Regions from separate parts of the Homo sapiens genome. Here region 1 is linked to region 2. The links are contacts of gene promoters, found by promoter capture Hi-C in human tissues and cell types (Jung and others, 2019). All regions are on one chromosome and are shown on one strand. Each heading gives the region's core, a stretch centred on a gene start or on the middle of the fragment in contact. The rest is flanking DNA. Distances are from core to core; before and after follow the strand shown.

What was found. The method cuts DNA at HindIII sites, captures the fragments that hold promoters and counts their contacts. A contact is called where the count stands out against the background at its distance.
Region 1: a contact is called between a fragment that was not itself captured here and the fragment with the promoter of ADCY8 in region 2, in 2 of the 25 tissues and cell types used here (bladder and dorsolateral prefrontal cortex).

What each region holds. Positions count from the first base shown.
Region 1 is chr8:131,407,256-131,411,217 of GRCh38, reverse strand. No RefSeq gene overlaps it. Among named protein-coding and RNA genes, the nearest start is that of IADEN, 97 kb to the right of the region's middle. The HindIII fragment of the contact is 9,537 bases long and covers 1-3,962 here.
Region 2 is chr8:131,038,634-131,042,161 of GRCh38, reverse strand. It overlaps ADCY8 (adenylate cyclase 8), which reads left to right and starts at 1,253. Exons shown (of 18, transcript NM_001115.3): 1 at 1,253-2,788. The coding sequence starts at 1,829. LOC105375760 (a long non-coding RNA gene) reads right to left here and starts at 2,632. Exons shown (of 6, transcript XR_928653.3): 1 at 2,552-2,632. RefSeq lists enhancers at 975-1,513, 1,514-2,053. The HindIII fragment of the contact is 7,762 bases long and covers 1-2,328 here.

The sequences.
Region 1 (3,962 bases), core at 195-2,694, 370 kb before region 2:
GATTTTTTTGTCCTTCAAGCTCCGGTGGGCCACAGAAGCATAATCACAATAATCCCCTCAACAGTCAAGCTGAAGTAGACCACATCCTGTTGGCCCCAAACTAAATAGAAACACGGAAATAATTGGAGAGCACAGAAGGCCGGGCGGAACTCCTGACTAGCTGTCTGCACAGGCTTGCCTTGATCCTTGCTTTAACATCCCCATAATACAACCATATGTTGTTTAAATTTTGATATCTGTATTTTACCTTGTGATGGGGTTTCCTTATATTACTGCTACCAGTGAATACCCCTTTGACGATGATGATCCCATGGTATTTACAAGACTCTTACCTAGTTCATCCACTTGTTTCAGATTTCACCATCCTCATTTCTTGGTCTGGAATCTAGGTGAATAAGCTGAGACTTTGAAGGTTGTCCAAGGCTACAGAGTCAGGTAGTAGCAAATCTGTGATTTGAACAGAGATTGGTCTTTTTTCCAAACTCCAAAACCCACTGGTCTTTTCTATTCTCAAAATTATGTGCATTTCACCAGCTATAATTTTTTGGTTTTTGTTTTATTTTGTTTTTAAGGCAAGAAATAATCCTTTCTCAGAGTCCTCAGTCCTCACCCTGTAGTATGTACTCAATAAATACTGCTTGAACTAAATTTGAGTTTTAAAATTAGAGCACTAGCTTCTTAAATGGGCTGCAGGCAAAAACCTCACACCTGGAAATAGTAGCTACATACACTTTATTTCTCTCCTTTAATAGATGCTCAGAGAGTTTCCTTCCCAGGGTCTCTAGGAGACTGATCTCAGGAAAAGTCTAGAGCACGGTCACTTTTACAAGAGCTTTGCAGCCTTCAAAATCCTGGAAAAACTGCACAGGGCTAAATTTTGCCATTGAAGGAGGTAATCTTGAGCTCTGAGGGATTAATTACTTATGCAAAAACAAAAGAGCCAGTTTAATAGGATAATTGCCAATGAAAGAAAATTAAATGGAATCAAAAGAAAAATTGAAGCCACAATATTCTTTTGCCTGCTGGAGGAACAAAGCTAATTGTTTTCTATCTGAAGTTCCCTTTTGGATGTTTCCTCCCAGCTAATTTTTCATGTTATTTGTATTGCACTGAAGATTCTCATTTTAACTTGTAGGAAGTGAGGATTCTTTAATTCTAGTTTTTGGAGTTGATTTGTTTAACTTGAGTGCAGTGCTTTGGGTTGTAAAAGTTGACATCGGAAGTTATAAGATAAAATAAAGGGACTATATGAATGATGGTAATGAGCTCAACTCCTTTGTGATAAACCAGTTTGATAGTGCTGCCAGAAACCTTTGTAATCGTAGTTTTATTTAGGGAAATTGTATTTAGAACAAGGAAGGCATAAATCAGTCCTACTCTGCATCAGCCATTTTGCACTTAAAACCATAATTAATTACAAACAGCCAACATTTTGAGAAACGCTAGCAAATTGGAATGGCTCCCCAGGACAAATAGGTGACAGTTGATGCACTGTTTTGAAAGAGAAAATTGTAATACCCAGTGTTAGTGTGGTTGTAGGGGGAAAGTCCTTCTTATGCACTGTTGAAATGAAAATTGACTGCTACAGTATTTCTGGATGTATCTTGGAAGCACACACAAGAACTTTAAAAACTGTATGTGCTGATGTGCTGTGACACAACTCTCACACTCCTAGAAATTTATTCAAAAAAAGAACAAGTGCAGCAAAGATAACATTGCAAAATTGCTGGTTTTTTTTTTTTTTGTTTTTTTTTTTGCATTTTGAGCTATTGGAAATTCAATGAATTCTTAAAATTGTGATTAGTTAAATACATTATAGTGTTCACAACGGTGTAATATGTAGCCATAAAATGAAATCTTAAATTGCTGTTTACTGATGCAGAAAGTTTATAATATAGAGTGTATTGTATAAACTTGAATGAATATTTGTTTAGAAATTATCATATGTATACACCTAAGCATAAGACAAAGTATGGGAGATTATATCATATGTTAATATTGGTTATATATAAAATTGTTTTCTCCAAAAGTTTATCTTCTATGATGTCTATAGTTTTATTTCTATGAGTTTTTAAACTATAAAATAAAAATAAAAGAATAGCTAAAATTCAGGGATGATTTAGCTGGGTTAATAATTGATCTGCAAAGATTTACGCTGCTCTTGAAAAATGAAATAAATGAATAGAATAAAATTGTACATTTATTCACGATAACTTCAAACAGATGCCAGAATGAAGGAGAGGATGCTTTAGAGGGCATCTGGACCATATACAAAGAAAATCTACACAGCAATGGAATGAGTGACCTTAGGGGTAGCAGGCACTCTAGATAGAAATATAGGTGGATGCTGGATAATTACTTATTATGTAAATGCTAACTAAATATATTTTGAGTGAATGAATAATTCATAATATTTTTGTATATTTTGAACCAACACAGAGGTTCTATATAAGAAAATAACATAATAAAATCAAATAATCTATTTATTGAACAATATTCAACTGGCACAGGCAACCAAAACAAAAATGGACACTTGGGATCACATCAAGTTAAAAAGCTTCTGCACAGCAAAGGAAACAATCAACAAAGTGGAGAGACAACCCACAGAATGGGAGAAAATATTTGCCACCTACCCATCTGACAGGGGATTAATAACCAAAATATATAAGGAGCTCAAACAACTTTGTAGAAAAAATCTAATAATCTGATTAAAAAATGGACAAAAGATCAGAATAGACATTTCTCAAAAGAAGACATACAAGTGACAAACAGTTATATGAAAAGGTGCTCAACATCACTGATCATAGAGGAAATGCAAATCAAATCCACAATATCATCTTACACCAATTAAAATGGCTTTTATCCAAAAGACAGGCAATAATGAATGCTGGCAAGCATGCAGAGGAAAGGGAACCCTCATGCAGTGTTGGTGGGAATGTACCTTAGAACAACAACTATGGAGAACAGTTTGAAGATTTCTCAAAAAAAACTAAAAATAGGGCTACTATATGTTCCAGCAATCCCACTACTGGGTATAAACCCAAAAGACAGGGAATCAGTATATTGAAGATACATCTGCACTCTTTGTTGCAGCACTGTTCACAATAGCTAAGATTTGGAAGCAACCTAAGTGTCCATCAACAGATGACCAGATAGAGAAAATATGGTATATATACACAATGGAGTACTATTCAGCCATTAAAAAGAATGAGATCCGTCATTTGCAACAACAGGAATGGAACTGGAGATCATTATGCTCACTGAAATAGTCAGGCACAGAAATACAAACATCACATGATCTCACTTATTTGTGTGATGTAAAAATCAAAACAATTGAACTTATGGACATAGAGAGAAGAAGGATGATTACCAGAGGCTGAAAAGGGTAGTGGGGGAATGGGGAGAGGTGGGGATGGTTAATGATTATAAAAAAATAGAAAGAATGAATAAGACCCACTATTTGATAGCACAACAGGGTGACTATAGTCAATAACTTAATTGTACATTTTTAAATAATGAAAGGAGTGTAATTGGATTGTTTGTAACACAAAGGACAAAGGCTGAGGAGGTGGATACCCCATTCTCCATGACATGAGTATTTCACATTGCAGGCCTGCATCAAAACATCACATGTGCCCCATAAATACATACACTTATGATGAAGCACAAAAATTAAAAATTAAAAAAAATTAGAAATCAAATAATCTTGTCTAGCCTGTCCACTAATGAGAATATGTACTTCTTACTCCAAGCAAAAATAGAATATTGACTCTACATCTCAGAAGTTATATAAGACTTTGCTTGGTTTTGGTAGAAATATTTTTTATAGATGTAATTTAAATTTTTAAAATGTTTTCCCTAGATCTGTAGAAAATCTAGATGAATTAGAACAGGGCACTCAACAGTTCAAAGAATAATTTCTGTTTCTGTTAATCAGTTAACAAATTAGAGAATATTAATGT
Region 2 (3,528 bases), core at 4-2,503:
ACATGCCTTTCTCCACGTCCGCCTCCTCGACCCTATTGTAAGCGGAGAAACTTAGTGTGCGAGGCAGGCAGGGGACGTCCCCATTTTGATGTCCCGTACCCTCCACCCCCTTCGGATCGAGGTAGTAAAGAGGCTCCTGTAGGAAACTGACTGCCTCTATGATTGCGGCCTCTTGGGGGATTTTGCGTTTAGCCCGAAAGTTGGCTTTGCCAAAAGACGCACGGGTAGGAAGGGCGAAAAGGAAACCCTGTATTCCGTCGCGCTGGGCTCTCCGAGTCCGTGCGCAAAGCGGCCTACGAGTCCTGGCTCCGCACCTGCAGAGGACAAGAGCCAATGCCTAAAAAAGAACAGCGGAGGAACCGGCTGGCGCGGCCAGCTGGAACGCTGGATCGCAGTGCGCCCAGGGAAGGCCGGGGGCGCCCGCCGGCCCTAGCCCTCAGTGGTCCTCTCCCACGCCGGCCCGCGCGTGCCTCTGCCTACAAGACCTGGGGCGTCCTGGCCAGATCTGGATGGCAGGTCCCTCCGCCACCCCCGGCCCGGTTCCGGGGGCGTGGCTTGGCGCGGGGGCGGGTTTAAGTCACCGCGGGTGTCTGACCACTCTGACAGGTCTCCAAATTTCTCCCAGTCGCCTGGCGCCCGCGGTGCGTTTCAGAGCTCCAGGGTGGCACGCGGCGGCGCTTCCCTAGATCCAGAGGCGTCTCTGTCGACTTCCACGCGGCCTCGGGCCTCCCTTCTCCTCCAAACCTTCGCCTCATCCGCCAAGCTTCGGTTCTCAGCCTCAGATATCCGCACCGGCGGCTTCTCTTCGTTCTCGGAGCTCTTGGCTTTGGAGCCCTCACCACTTTTTCCTTCCCCCGCCTCTCCTGATCCTCCTAGCTCCGAGCCAAATGGACTCCAAAGAACGAAATAAAGGGGATGAGAACTGTGTGCTGCGACCCTTCGAAAGCACAGCTGAAAGCGTTGACCTCGTCTTATAGCTCAGGCTGGGACCCTGGAGCGAGAGTCCCCACACCCCCTCCGGGAGGGATGCTTCTGGCCAGAGCCAGCGCTGCGCTGTCAGTCCTTGCTCCCGAACTAGGAAAGAGCCTAGGAGGGAGCCTCAGCATACCCCTTCCTCCAAATTAACTATTTGGTGAATTGTTAGCGCCGAGGCTACCACCTCTCCAACCCTGTCGCGGGGCGCCCCGCCACCTCACCGTGACCCCCTCCTCCTCCTTCTTTGCCCCCGCCCCCAGCTCCGCCCCTGCTCCCCATCCCGGCGCAATGGAGTTCTCCGAAGGGCGATGATTCCAGCCACATCTGCTAACTTCGCACCCATCGCTGCCGCCGGTCACCGCCGGCCAGGCCCCCTGCAGCCGCGGAGCAGTGGGCGTCCAAAGCCCAGTGCAGCAGCCAGGACCCGCCCGACGCGCAGCAGAAGCACGGCGCCCAGGCGCTTAGGCGTCTCTTGGAGAGCAAAGGCTGCGCCAAAACGCTGAGCCTAGAATCAACCAAGGAGCCTGAGCCCAGGAAGGGGCTGCGTGGCTCACAGCGCTGCGGCTCCTGAGGACAAATAGCCACTGCCGCTGCGTACCCAAGCTGCGCCGGCTGGCGGGAGAGCAGCACGCAAGGACGCCGAGGTCCGCCGCGATCTTCCAGGTGCCCTTTGCCCCTGGGCACAGTATGACCCGACCTACAGGGAGCCCTAGCGCAGGGCTCCTGCAACGGGGCAGCCTAGGATAAAAAGGATCCTTGCCAAGCTCCTACCAGGCCGCCTTTGAGTCTTTAGGAACCCCTCCTCCGGCTGCCTCCCCAAGGTTCTGGGCCTCCTTCCCTGCGGCCCAGAGCCATGGAGCTCTCCGATGTGCGCTGCCTTACAGGCAGCGAGGAACTCTACACCATCCACCCGACGCCCCCGGCCGGCGACGGCAGGAGCGCCTCCCGGCCGCAGCGGCTGCTGTGGCAGACGGCGGTGCGACACATCACGGAGCAGCGCTTCATTCACGGGCACCGGGGAGGCAGCGGCAGCGGGAGTGGAGGCTCGGGCAAAGCCTCGGACCCTGCGGGCGGCGGCCCCAACCACCACGCGCCGCAGCTGTCAGGCGACTCGGCGCTGCCCCTCTACTCGCTGGGCCCGGGAGAGCGAGCGCACAGCACCTGCGGCACCAAAGTCTTCCCGGAACGCAGCGGGAGCGGCAGTGCCAGCGGCAGCGGAGGCGGGGGCGACCTGGGCTTCCTGCACCTTGACTGTGCCCCTAGCAACTCGGATTTCTTTCTTAATGGGGGCTATAGCTACCGAGGGGTCATTTTCCCCACCCTGCGCAACTCCTTCAAATCTCGGGATTTGGAACGCCTCTACCAGCGCTATTTCTTGGGCCAAAGGCGCAAATCGGAAGTGGTGATGAACGTGCTGGACGTGCTGACCAAACTCACTCTCTTGGTCCTACACTTGAGCCTGGCCTCGGCCCCCATGGACCCGCTCAAGGGCATCCTGCTGGGCTTCTTCACCGGCATTGAGGTAGTGATCTGCGCCCTGGTGGTGGTCAGGAAGGACACCACCTCCCACACGTACCTGCAGTACAGCGGCGTGGTCACCTGGGTGGCCATGACCACCCAGATCCTGGCAGCAGGCCTCGGCTACGGGCTCCTGGGCGACGGCATAGGCTACGTGCTCTTCACGCTCTTCGCCACCTACAGTATGCTGCCGCTGCCGCTCACCTGGGCCATCCTGGCCGGCCTGGGCACCTCGCTGCTGCAGGTCATCCTCCAAGTGGTCATACCCCGGCTGGCGGTCATTTCCATCAACCAGGTAACTCCTGCCTGCCTTGCATTTGTTTCCCCTCTAACTTCCCCGGGTTATTGATCATATAGCTTCCAGAGAGCCAGGGTTGCCTCACTCTCTTTAAGTCTCCGCCTTCAGTCTGGCACAGTGCCTTGTACCTAGGAGGTCTTGAGTGTTAGCGGAATGCAATCTCTTCTTAAAGTGGAACTAAATGACCTCTAAAAGTTTCTACCAACTCTACCCTTCTACTCTGATTCTATGAGTAATTCTACTCTGACATCAGCTAAGAAAGTCTGCTTTCTGCTCCTCATTCCCCTCCCTCAGGGTCTGCAGTCTCCGGAGCAGGAGACAGAAGGGGAGGAGAAGCATCCAGATTTAGAAGGTGACCCATTCCTTAACATCTCTCCTCAGGAGAGTCGCAGCAGGGTGTTGTAGCAGGCTCTGGGCTTCAGAGTTGGGTTTTTCCGTATCTCTAAGCCACAAACCCTCAGTTCTCAAAGGAACATACATTTGTTAAACACATACTGATTGTCAGTGCTGAGTACTGTACGTGTTATGTCATCCAATCCTTCAAACAATCCTATGACACATGGTTTTCTCGGGAATTTTTTATTGCCTTGGTGACCAAACATGATATCTTCTCTCATGACACGATGCGACCCCAGTGCTTTGAATAAACCAACCTCAGTAATTGGGGGTGGCAAAGAATGCAAGTTTTGATTAATTGGAAAAGGGCATTTTGATGTAGATGCTTTAAATATTATATT